3 separate regions of the Homo sapiens genome follow, and all the other regions are linked to region 1. Evidence: promoter capture Hi-C in 16 types of primary human blood cells and fetal thymus (Javierre and others, 2016). All regions are on one chromosome and are shown on one strand. The core of a region is centred on a gene start or on the middle of the fragment in contact, and the rest is flanking DNA. Distances in the headings are between cores, read along the strand shown. Region 1 holds the start of EEF1E1 (eukaryotic translation elongation factor 1 epsilon 1). Region 2 overlaps TMEM14B-DT (TMEM14B divergent transcript). Region 3 holds the start of MAK (male germ cell associated kinase).

Region 1 (4,349 bases), core at 1,040-3,539:
TTTTTATTAGTTAGAATTCTATAAAGACATTTTTCCTCATTAGAGTTTAGTTTCCCTGAGATACAGTTTACATAGGATAATCATGAAAAAATATATTGGTTTCTTCATGTGTTTTCTTTATCCTTTTTCAAAATAATGAATTGGATCTCTAGTATCCTCCAAAGGTAACGAATGAGGGTTATTTTGATTTTGTTCTTGTTTTTTTTTTAGTATCATTATGAACTCATAGACTTAAACATATTCAACATGTTTCAATTCATTGCAATTATTCTTATCGACTCTCAGCTTGTAATGACTATTATTGACCCTCAAGTGATCTGATCCTACCCTTTGACTCCCCTCATTACTCTTAGATACTTTCTTTTCTTTCTACTATAACTAGATGGTCCAGACTGATCTCCCCGCAAGGTTTGGATTCAGCCGGTCTCCAAAGAGCCCCCATTTCTTTTTGTGGGAAATAGTATTTGAAACCAGAATCTGGGTGCTGGGGTGCTCATTGCTACTGAGTTGTCCTTGTTTCTAGGCCTTTTAAGTAAACAGAGCTAGGTAGGAAATACTTTTCATTTTCCTTAAGATAAAAGCGTCATAAGTTCATATTGATATTACAATTCAAATTCAGGACCAGAAAGTTTTGATTTAACCTCATCTACCTTACAACTCCTCTTTTGGGCAACACCAAACACCCAACTTTCCAGCAACACCACATGATTGCATCTTTGCTTTATTCCACAGTACATATACAGCACCATACCAATGCTGACACTGCCAAGATGCTAACCAAACCAACAAACAAAAAGAACCAAAAACAGGTTTTCATGAATTTTGTCCTTAAAGCATATCTTACTAAGAGTATACAATTAAATGACTGTGCTATAAAGTCACTTAAAAGAGGTCCACACTGGGTGATGATGTCATCAATTTGATGTACAATATGCTTTGTTCTGCTTTCAGTTTTTTAGGGATTTCTTTTTTAATTTGATATTTCTATAATTATGCAAAGGCCAAACCTTATTTTCAATATACCACCCATTGGCATTGGATAAATGTTAATTTTTTTAAAAAATGTTTTATTACAAGCAAAAAGTGTACCTAAACCCTGAAAATGGATATGTGAATTATCTTAGAGGGTTGGTCTTTTAAAAAGTAGTAGAATAGTCATTCCATTATCTGAATATGGAAAGTAAAACAGATAATTTAGTGCCTAACAATCCACTTATACTGAAATTTCTTTTGTATTTTGTTATGTTGATTTGGCAAAAGTTTCTTTTCCTTATGTTTACTTCTGCTGACAGAGTAAACTCATTAAGTATTCTGGGATAGGGAAGGTGTAACACAGTAACAACATTCCCCACTAAACTTTGATATTTCTGATTCAATGATGAGTTACCTTGTAGGATTGTTCTATTTCTCTCAGACTAATACACACTTTGTTTATTCATTCTTCAAAGTGGAAAATATTTTGTATTTTCACAAATCTTTTGGAAATATTCAACATATACTACTAATTTTCTTTCTTTCTTCCTTTCTTTCTTTTTTGAAGATACAAGAATGTAGCAAGTTAGTGGGGCAAAGTTATGCACCTTGTTTATTTATATACCAAAACTTCATAAATTATGTAACCAGCCTTCTGGTACTGCAAAAAAAGATCATTAATGCCATTAATGGCTTATTTCCTTGAGCTGTAATTATTTGACCCCTATCTGACATACTCCGTGTTCTGTGAATAATCTTTAAATGTATAATTCTACTGCTAGTGTTGAGCTGTAGATCAACAGTAGAAAAACCAGTTTTTCGAATTCACCACTACAACACAATTAAAATCCTCATGAATTATGCTACACGTTAGAAACTCCTAATGGACTGTGAACTTTTTGCTATTCAATTTGATTGTTCAAATTTACAGATTCCTGAACCAAACTAAGGCAAATTTCAGTTCCCATCATATATAAATTCTCTTAGACTAGCAAATGAGTTAACGAGTTACCGCTGGCAGCCATGTCAATAGATTGCCATTTAGAGATCCAGATCCAGTCTACTGCAGCCACCGAAGCCCGGCCTTGGGGCCTTTCTACCAGTAACTAGCTCCCCAACAGTTCGAGTGGAAATTTACCATCACTTCTCCACCTGTCTCACACCCCGCCCTCAGCCCCGCCCCTTCCACCGGCCCCGCCTCCTGTGCTTTGGCGCGCGCTCTCCACGCCCCTTCCGTTCAGCCAATCGCCGCTGAAGTTTGCAGGAGTGGGACTTCTGTTTCCACCAATGCGGGAGGTTCTTGTTCTGCAGGTCTCGCGTCTGCCAGGAGCTACGGCCGGAAGATGGCGGCGGCCGCAGAGTTGTCGCTACTGGAGAAGTCCCTGGGACTGAGTAAGGGGAATAAATACAGTGCTCAGGGCGAGCGACAGGTGAGAAGGAGAGGCGGCGCGGAGGGGAAGAGGTGGACGGGAGCGGGGCCTGCCGAGCCCTGGCAGGACCCGGGCCGGCCACCAGATACGGGCGGAGTGAGGATGCTGCTACCCAGCTCCCCACGTGTCTGCGCCGCTAGCCGGCTGGCGCCTCTGGGCCTCGGCCCCTGCCATCCTACCTCCTGGAGGGAGGGGTTAACCAGCTCAGGTTGGGCTTGGCCTGAACTTCACCTCCTGGGAAATTGTCATCATCCCATTATGAGGAAACAAAACCAGTTGGAGGAGGGTCCTCACAGGGCTCTTAGACCAACCTGGAATGTATTCAGTAACTGGCTTTTTTTTTTTTCCCGTAATCGCACCTTTCATTCAGTTATTGCGCAGCGACTCCGTTATAGCTAACAGGGTGCCAGGTAGCACCGTGCTGGGTCTGGGGAATACAATGATGATTTAGGGGAACATGCTTCCTCCTCTCAGGCAGCTTGCTTTTTGGCCAGGTGGACAAACATTGCAACCATTTAAATTGGAAGAGTGCCACGTTGCACCATAAATGGCAGAGAGAACACCTAAGGAGTCTTGGCCCAATCTAGGGGATTCGGGGAAGGCGTTTCTAAAGCCTTGGATTATCAGTTTAAGTGTTACGACCCACAGTGAATGCGGGAAACATCACAAGGTATGAGATTGCCTGGTTAGGCACTGTTAGAACGTTTGTGTTTTATAGTTGTTTGTCGTAGAAGGAATGTATTAGAGAAGGAAATTGGTTGTAGGAAGACTACTTTGGATATATGTTTTTTTTGCTCCTTTGAGATTTTTTCCAAATGATGTTTGGTTTTTGTCTTTAATTTTTTCTCTTCTTCATTTGGTCCATGTGAAGATCTTGTCTAGAAAGTAGTAGTATAGTTTTTATTTAAGTTAACCTGAAGCCTAGAAAGGTTAAGTGTTCAGCCTAAGATCAGCCCTGTGATTGGTGGCAGAGTAGGCGTTGGAGCCAAAGTGGCCTTCTTTTGGTGTTTCCTCTGCCCCAGTGATAATTCCGTCCCTTCGGCCCCTACTCCCTAGCTTAGTGTATATATTATATAATATATATGTAGTATAAATATAATATATATGGCCGAGTGGACAAACATTGCAACCGTTTAAATTGGAAGAGTGCCATATATATATATATATATATATATATATATATATATATATTTTTTTTTTTTTTTTTTTGAGACAAAGTCTCACTGTGTCGCCCAGGCTGTAGTGCCATGGCATGATCTCGGATCACTGCAACCTCTGCCTCCCGGGTTCAAGCGATTCTTCTGCTTCAGCCTCCCAAGTAGCTGGGGTTACAGGTGTTCGCCACCACGCTCAGCTAATTTTTGTATTTTTAGTAGAGACCGGGTTGCACCATGTTGGCCAGGCTGGTCTTGAACTGGTGACCTCAGGTGATCCACATGCCCTGGCCTCCTAAAGTGCTGGGATTACAGGCGTGAACCACTGTGCCTGGCCTAGTTTATATTTTTTAGGGACCATTGCCAAGATATGAGTATTATCTAGTATGAGAAACAATCATCAGCAAATAATTTAAAGCACAACATAGTAAGCACTTCATGGACTGTCGTGGGTGAGCAGCAACTCTCTGGGGCTGGTGGCGCCAGGGTAAGAATTTACCAGGACAGCTGTACGTAAAGAAAAGCAGATTTATTAGAGAAAGTATGAAAATATGTTGCAAGAGTGCAACAGGCAAGTTAGTAAGAGAGGAGCTAACTGCAAGGAAACAAAGGCTGGCTGGGGATTTTACGGAATAGTACTTCAGTTGTGTGCTGAAGAGGGGTTTGTGCAGTACTGATAACACCAAGGTTGCAGTGAGCTAACTTGAGTTTTCTATCAGCCGAAGGTCCGGTGATAGCTGGACATGGAAAGATTGTTGAGTTATTTGTGCAGAAGGGCTGTGTCCTGGACCAT
Region 2 (4,191 bases), core at 914-3,413, 2.6 Mb before region 1:
AGGCCTATCAGTAGGTTTGGGTGTTTTGTTTTGTTTTTCCCACAAAGAGGCTTTGAGTAAGAATTGTGTCTGGTAGACAAACACAGGTACACACACAGGTGTGTACTCACACAGCAAGAGCAGTAGAGATCATCTCCCACAACACAAGAGCTCATGAAGAAAGGGAATTGAGCTTCAATGTAAGCATTAGTTTAGCATTTTTGGAGCCTGAATGTGTTGACTTTACAAATTAAGAAGTCCCTGAACAAAAACGTCAAAAACAAATCCCAAGTTGCAGTCTGCCCAGGTAATTCATGTCTATCAAGTGTCTACAATACCAATTTCTACATCTTTGGGAGTATTTTATAGGTTTGTTTGAAGAGCAAGGTCAATAACTCTTTCCCCAAGAAATAAATGAAATCATAAAAAAAAAACCGCCTATTTTCTTAACCTAACCTATCTGCCATCTACTTCTGGATCATATTCATTGGAGCCATAAAAATATTAGCAGAAGCATATGCAGTTCTTATTATCTGCCACTGTTGGAAGCGCTTTACATATGTTAACTAACTTACACTTCATACCAACTCTGTGCAGTGACGACTATGATTATCTCCTGCTTTACACATGGAAGAAATTGAGGCACAGACTACAAGGTCACACAGCAAATGGCAGAGCTGTCCTAACTCTGCATTTGTTTCTTGCAGTGAAGAGTCTTTTTTCTGTCTCTTAGTCTGTTCTCAACACAGTGACCAGAGCACTTGGGTTAGAAGTCTGACTGTGCCATTTCTCTCCCCAAAACCCTCTGGTGGCACCCCTTTTCTCAGGCAGTGCTTTGCAAAGCCCCACACATCCTCCTCCCTGACATCAGCATCTTCTCTTTCCCCCTCACTTGTGTTTCCTTCTTGCCCTCAGCTGCTTCATCTGCCTGGAACGCCTCCCCAGACAATCTCCTGGTTCACGCCCTCTCCTCCTTTCTGTCTTTACGCAAATGTCACTTCTCAGAGAGACCTTCCCTAATCACCTGATTTAAAACTTCAACTCATCTGCATTTCCCCCGACAGCATCTTTCCTTCCATGACAATTCCCTGCTAACCTGCTCTGTAACTGGCTTAATCATCGTAGAGCCTACCTCCCCCTTTTTTGCATGTTTGTTTCATGGGAGTGATGATATTTATGCAGCATTTAGCACAGTGCCTGGCCCATAACCAGTACTCAGTAAACATGTGTTGAATGGACAAGTAGATGTGGAGTGAGAAATGAGAGGGGTGGTCGGCAGACAGGAGAACAAAGGCCACATGTACAGTTTGCCCTGGCTGTACCCTGGCTCTGGTTCTTCCTGCCTTGGCCTCAGCCAGATACACCTGTGTCCTTCTCATGTACTTACCCCCACGTCCTCTGTTGAAGCTTAGGACATCCAGAGTTGCATTTGTTTCTTGCAGTGAAGAGTCTTTTAAAATCTGAAATAGGCTGTGAGCGGTGGCTCACGCCTGTAATCCCATCACTTTGGGAGGCTGAGGCACATGGATCACCTGAGGTCAGGAGTTCGAGACTAGCCTGGCCAACATGGTGAAACGCTGTCTCTACTAACAATACAAAAAAAAAAAAATAGCCGGGTGTGATGGTGCACGCCTGTAATCCCAGCTACTCAGGAGGCTGAGATGGAAGAATCGCTTGAACCTAGGAGGCAGAGGTTGTAGTAAGCCGAGATCACTCTACTGCACTCCAGCCTGGGTGACAGAGGGAGACTCCATTTCCAAAAAAAAGAAAAGAAAAATGAAAAATTGAGTTGACATCATGGGCCCTGTGTCATTCAAAAACTCAACATTTCACTAATCAGTCAAGCTGCCCATGACTGCCCCAGGCCATTGCATTCAATATGTTAATTTATTTACCAAAGCTGTGTCTTTCAGAAGGGTTGTGTTTTTCCTTTTAGCCCTCAGAATCTAGGATAGCACCTGGCACACATGGTGAGCACTCACTTCATGGCTGTCGGATAAACAATGGAGCAAGGAAGGTGGAGATGGATGCTTACACATGGGGAATTGTATCAGGAAGGAGTGTATGTGTGATTAAAACCTGTTCTACATAAATAGAAAAGTTGATCATTCAACACATGGACGGCTAAGACTATATGCAGACTATCCATTCTCAGGAAGAAAAGGGAAGCAATCTACCTGACTTCCCCAAATGGATTCCGTATTTTGATATGAATTGTTATCATGTGGGAAATGCGATGGCCTCCAGGTATACTACCTCAGAGATCAGTGAGCAGAAAAGCTCACAGATCAAATTAAAATGCTTGAATCTCTTAGTTTATTTAAATCAATTTAAAGAGACAGTGAAAAGCAAGAGGAAAGAGATGGGATAAGTAAACGCTGTCAAGAGACGGTGCAAATCTGGTGGAAGATGCCTGCTACCTAAAGCCTACCTCATACAATGTTCAGGGGCCACCATCCCCCACCTGCCCCAACCTCCACCCCTCTCTGTGATATTGACTTTCCTGTGGATCGTGGTGCTGAAGACGACAGGTTTGAGCAAGGAGACTCAAAGAGGCAAGGTGCCCCACGCCAATGACACAAACTTGCTCTGTCCGAGATGCAGGTACAAGCAAGCCTAGCAAAGAGCTGAGCTTTGCCTGTTGGCCTGTGGAGCAACCATGGGTTTTACTGTGTTTCTTGGACAGAGGACACTTGGGGACAGAAGTGAATAGCATGACTATTTCATGCTTATGTATATTTTATGCACTGTATTTAGTGCCTCTTGGACATTTAATGTATCAAATATTTCATGCTCAGGTGTCTCATGTATACTTGGTAGCTAGGAATGTTAGGTATCCTGGACTTTCTATTCCTTTCTGTGTCTAACACATGTTCTACTTACTACTTAACACATCTAATAAAATCTGCCTATGTTTTAAAAACTAAGATTTATCTATACTTAACTTGTACTAAAAGCTTTCCCCTGTATTTCACAAACATATTAATCTTCCTTAAAAGTATTGAATACTCCCAAAAACAAATGTATATTCCAACTTTTTATTTTCAAATGCCACATTAAAAAAACACCCTCTGGCTGGGCGCAGTGGCTCATGTCTGTAATCCCAATATTTTGGGAGGCCAAGGCAAGCAGATCACTTGAGGTCAGGAGTTCGAAACCAGCCTGACCAACATGATGAAACCCAGTCTCTACAAAAAAAATAAGATTAGCTGGGTGTGATGGTGGATGCCTGTAGTCACAGCTACTCAGGAGGCTGAGGCAGGAGGATTGCTTGAGCCCAGGAGTTCAAAGCTGCAGGAAGCTATAATCATGCCACTGCAAAAGGTGACAGAGACCCCGTGTCTTAAAATAGACTTAAGCCAGTTTAAGCCTTTCAGTTAAATGTCCCATGAAGAATTCTGTTTTGAGACTGAGTGTTGCTCTGTCACCCACGCTGGAGTGCAGTGGCGCGATCTTAGCTCACGGAAACCTCTGCCTCCCGGGTTGAGCGATTCTCCTGCTTCAGCCTCCCAAGTAGCTGGGATTACAGGCACATGCCACCATGCCCTACTAATTTTCTTATTTTTACTAGAGACAGGTGTTTCAGCATATTGCCCAGGCTGTTCTCAAACTCCTGACTTCGTGATCCACCTACCTCAGCCTTCCAAAGTACTGGGATTACAGGCGTTAAGCCACAGCTCCCGGCCCCCACCAAGAATTTTAAACAGCTGATACGAATGTGTCCAAATATTGGTTCCTTCCGGTGGGTTCTTGGTCTCGCTGACTTCAGGAATGAAGCCACGGACCCTCACGGTGTTTACAGTTCTTAAAAATAGTGTGTCCACAGTCTGTTCCTTCAGCTGTTTGGATGTGTCTGGAATTTCTTCTTTCCGCTGGGTTCAGTGACCTGCACAGGCCTCAGGAGTGAAGCCACAGACCTTCGCCGTTGACTGTTAACAGCTCTTAAAGGTGGTGCATCCAGAGCTGTTCATTCCTCCCCTGTGGGTTCATGGTCCCGCTGGCTTCAGAAGTGAAGCTGCAGACTTTCGCAGTCAGTGTTATATAGCTCATAAAGGCGGAACGTCCACAGTTGTTCATTCCTCCCTGTGGGCTCATGGTCTTGCTGGCTTCAGGAGTGAAGCTGCAGACCTTTGCAATGAGTGTTACAGCTCTTAAAGATGGCACCTCCAGAGTTGTTCGTTCCTCCCAATGGGCTTGTCATTTACGCTAGTG
Region 3 (4,077 bases), core at 1,401-3,900, 2.7 Mb before region 1:
TCATTCTGAAATATCATTTTTCTGAGGGATCTCCTACTACTTCCCTGACTTTTCTTTTTTCAGTCTGTCTCTTCCTCACCCCTACTCTTTCTTTCTCCACTCTTTAGAGGATGGAGTTTTCCAGAATCCCATCCCTTCTTTCTTCTTACTGTTTATTTCATCTATATCCATGATTTCATCCACAGTATCCCAACATATCTGTATTTCTAGCTCTAAAAGAACCCTAAGTTGCAAATCTATATTACAAACTCCCTTCTTGTAATCTGCATAAGGATTTTTCTCAATTCAAAAATTTCAAAACTGGGCTTGTTATCTCTCACATCCTCCATCCCTAAATCAGCTCCTCCTCTATTATTTTCCAACTTGGTCATGGATACCACTATCCACCAGTCATCTAAGCCTGATGGTCCTGCCGATTTTAACTCCTAAACATCCCTTGAATTCTGTCTTTCTCTGTCCTATTTCCATCATCACTGCTAGAGTTGGATCCTTATCATTTCTTCCCAGTCAGTTGGGAGAAAGACTCCCAATCTTTCTCTTGCCTCCAGACTTGCAGCTCAAATCCACCCTACCCACTGCTCCTCTTGGGATCTTTCTGAAATGCAAATGTGAACATGTCACTCTTCTGTGGGAGATTCTTCACTGGTCTTCCTCATTGACACATGTTAAAGCTTAGGCTTCATAACTGGGTATATAAAGCTGCTATGACCTATCTAACTTATGCTTTTTACTTTGCCTGCCTACTTCACTTATTTATTGGAGAGCAATGAATCTTTTATTTATTATTATTATTATTGAGACGGAGTTTTGCTTTTGCTGCCCAGGCTGGAGTGCAATGGTGTGATCTCAGCTCACTGCAACCTCCGCCTCCTGGGTTCAAGCTATTCTCCTACCTCAGCCTCCCAAGTAGCTGGGATTACAGGCATGCGCCACCACGCCTGGCTAATTTTTTGTAGTTTTAGCATTTTAGTAGAGATGGGGTTTCTCCAGGTTGGTCAGACTGGTCTCAAACTCCCGACCTCAGGTGATCCGCCCACCTCGGCCTCCCAAAGTGCTGGGATTACAGGCATGAGCCACCGCGCCTGGCCATTTATTATTATTATTATTTTGAGACAGAGTCTTGCTCAGTCACCCAGGCTGGAGTGCAGTGGCACGTTCTCCGCTCACTGCAACCTCTGCCTCCTGGGTTCAAGTGATTCTCCTGCCTCAGCCTCCCGAGTAGCTGGGATTACAGGCATGTGCCACCACACCCAGATATTTTTTGTATTTTTAGTAGAGATGGGGTTTCACCATGTTGGCCAGGCTGGTCTTGAACTCCTGACCTCAGGTGAGCCACTCACCTGGGCCTCCCAAAGTGCTGGGATTACAGGCATGAGCCACTGAGCCCCGTCTGTTTTTAAATGTTTATTTCAATAGCTCTTGGGGTACAAGTGGTTTTTTGTTACATAGATGAATTATATAGTGGTGAATTCTGAGATTTTAGTGCACCCATCATCTGAGTAGTGTATATGGTACCTAGTGCATAGTTTTTTTTATCCCTAGGCTCTCTCCCATCCTCCCCTTTCTGAGTCTCCAAAGTCCATTATTTCACTGTGTATGCCTTTGCATACTCATAGCTTGGCTTTTGCTTATAAGTGAGAACATACAGTTTTTGGTTTTCCACGCCTGTATTACTTTGCGTAGAATAAGGACCTCCCACTCTTCCAAGTTGTTGCAAAAGACATTATTTCATTCTTTTTTTGTGACTGAGTAGCAGCCTATGGTGTATATATACCACATTTTCTTTATCCACTCATTAGTCAATGGGCACTTAGATTGGTTCCACATCTTTGCAATTGTGAATTGTGCTGCCATAAACATACGCGTGAAAGCCTACTTCACTTTAAGCTGTGAGGGCCACAGGCATGTCTGTCGTGTCTACCTTGGCGCTATTCTTGGTCCCAAGCCCACATCCTGACACCTAATAATTACTAACTTGCCGCACCACTGCTTCATCACTTATGTTTCTGTTTCGTAGACCCTTTTTGCCAGCCAATCTGAACTATTTGCAGTAACACAAGTGTGCCTTCCTCTCTAAATTCTAGACTAGTTACAATTTACCCATTTATTCACACATTCAGTCATTTTTCTTGGAATTACCACTATCTAACTCTGTGGCTGATACTAGGCAGGTTCTCTGAATGAATAAATGGAAACAAACTTAGAAGGGCAGCTCAAGAGGTAATACATACCCAAGGAATTGACCAATTTAAGGAACTGCATACAAGAACAGTTTTTCCCCAGGCACAAGTAAACAAGTGCAAGTATGAGGCAAACAGACTTCCTTCTCTTGCTCTGCCCGGTCTGGGAACCATATTTTAATTAATCAAGACTTTGTAGAATGAATCGGAACAAAACCAAAACAAAATAAAGGGCAAACAAACCAACTTCTGACAAAGACCTGACTGAAAAGGTAATCAACTCCCCTAAACCCCAAGTCTAAATGGCACACTTGCTGCAGCTCAGCCGACAGTCCCCCGGCTCCATGAAGCCCCGCCCCGGGGAAGGCGGGGCCTGCGGGAATTGGCGGGGATTTCCCGCGAGGCCACGCCCTCTCTGGGCCGGCCGTAGGCCCGCCTGCTGCCCCCGCCGTTTCCTAGGAGATGAAACACACAAGACGCCGGAGCTTCACAAGGGAGCGAACGAGGTAAGCAGCAGGCGCGGACAGGTAATCCCCAGCGGGCTGCAGGGCCACCACCCTCTGTCCGACCCAGCCGGAGCCCGACCTGCGAGGCTGGCCGGGCATGTCCCCTCGGCGCCCTGTGCTACCAGGGCCAATCTCCGCCCGGAGACCGGTCCCTGACGCCGGTAGGGGAAGGACTGGAGGGAGGAGGGTCCCCGGAGGGGCGGAGCGGGCGGGAGTGGTCAGCCCGAGGGAAGGCGGTCGGTGTCTCCCAGACCTCTTGACCACTTTCCCGCCTCCTGGACCGCGGGGGCCGGCCTGGCGTGGGAGGATGACGGCCGGGCGTCCCTTAGCCTGAGACCCCCGCCCCTAAACTCTCCTCCGGGATCTCCCACCTCTGCTCCCCTGCTGCTTGGGCTGGCGGTGGAAACTGTTTTTAGGACAGAGAGGCAGGATTGGGTCTCAGGGAGGCAGCGGAACTGAGTTCAGAACTGTTGCAAAATCTAAAAGGAGGGAGAAAAACAGGAATTAGGTCCGACTCCAGCCCTCGCTGGTGCATCCCAAAGGACGCTCAGGTGAAAGTGGAATTCCGCACACCCCCGTCCCCCCCAACGGCGCCGGACTCCCGGCGCCCGGGGACGCCCCCTCCTTCCACCACGCGGTCCCTGGAGCCTTTTAAGAGCCCTGGTTTGCAGAGTCGGATCAGAAAGTGTGTGACGAAAACTGTCCCTTTTCTGCAAGTAATCCGTTTTAATTTAGGGACAGGTCGAGAGTGCGGTGTCGAGAGCAATAAAACTGGTTTTTAGTGGTTAGTAATCTCAATCCTACAAGGAAAGAGCTGTATGCAAATGTGGTTAGATAATCGTTTAAAAGAAACAGACATTTGTTCTAATGATAACGGAATTCTCAAAGAGGGAAGCCAAAGTTATCTGACTTTATTTATTCAGAAACACAACCCATTAAGTGAAATAATGGTGAAAACAAAAGTGACTTTCCAGCTTTTCGATCGGGCCCCGCCTCCCCGGCCCTTCAATTCCCGAGGCTTGACCGGGAGGGAGAAAGTTCCCCCAACCGCGCCACCGCCTGCTTCCACTGCAGGCACCGGGCAGGACGTTTAATCTCTTCGTCGGGGTGGACTTTTTTTGTGTATAAGCTTTGAAATAATTTGTGAATATGAGCACAGAGAACTGTGCTTTTATATTTTAAGATACAGTCTTTGTTTTCCCATTGTAATAGCTCATTTAATTTCTGTAAAACTTCGACTTGGTTAGTTTGGGATCTTTTTTTCCTGCGTTGCTTTTTAAAGAGTTTGGTGACTTTTAAAACGTTAATTACTCTTTTGTTGTGTATTAGAAGCGTTAAGCCAGCCTCGGAGTGACATAATATGTTCTAGAAAGCCACGTTGAAGACATCCA

The links. Contacts are between HindIII fragments. The CHiCAGO score rates a contact against its expected background, and 5 or more counts as called.
Region 2: a fragment that was not itself captured here is called in contact with the fragment with the promoter of EEF1E1 in region 1 in 1 of 17 cell types (naive CD8 T cells); the score reaches 6.6 in naive CD8 T cells.
Region 3: the fragment with the promoter of MAK here is called in contact with the fragment with the promoter of EEF1E1 in region 1 in 1 of 17 cell types (non-activated CD4 T cells); the score reaches 7.2 in non-activated CD4 T cells.

The regions. Positions count from the first base shown.
Region 1 is chr6:8,100,488-8,104,836 of GRCh38, reverse strand. EEF1E1 (eukaryotic translation elongation factor 1 epsilon 1) reads left to right here and starts at 2,289. Exons shown (of 4, transcript NM_004280.5): 1 at 2,289-2,402. The coding sequence starts at 2,316. EEF1E1-BLOC1S5 (EEF1E1-BLOC1S5 readthrough (NMD candidate)) reads left to right here and starts at 2,242. Exons shown (of 7, transcript NR_037618.1): 1 at 2,242-2,402. RefSeq lists silencers at 2,037-2,236, 2,377-2,496, 2,705-2,890. The HindIII fragment of the contact is 8,997 bases long and covers 1-4,349 here.
Region 2 is chr6:10,742,039-10,746,229 of GRCh38, reverse strand. It overlaps TMEM14B-DT (TMEM14B divergent transcript), which reads left to right. Exons shown (of 2, transcript NR_187231.1): 2 at 1,916-2,906. Among named protein-coding and RNA genes, the nearest start is that of TMEM14B-DT, 3.4 kb to the left of the region's middle. The HindIII fragment of the contact is 1,550 bases long and covers 1,389-2,938 here.
Region 3 is chr6:10,837,112-10,841,188 of GRCh38, reverse strand. It overlaps MAK (male germ cell associated kinase), which reads left to right and starts at 2,650. Exons shown (of 15, transcript NM_001242957.3): 1 at 2,650-2,686. RefSeq lists enhancers at 1,968-2,127, 2,178-2,237 and a silencer at 2,458-2,587. The HindIII fragment of the contact is 3,144 bases long and covers 674-3,817 here.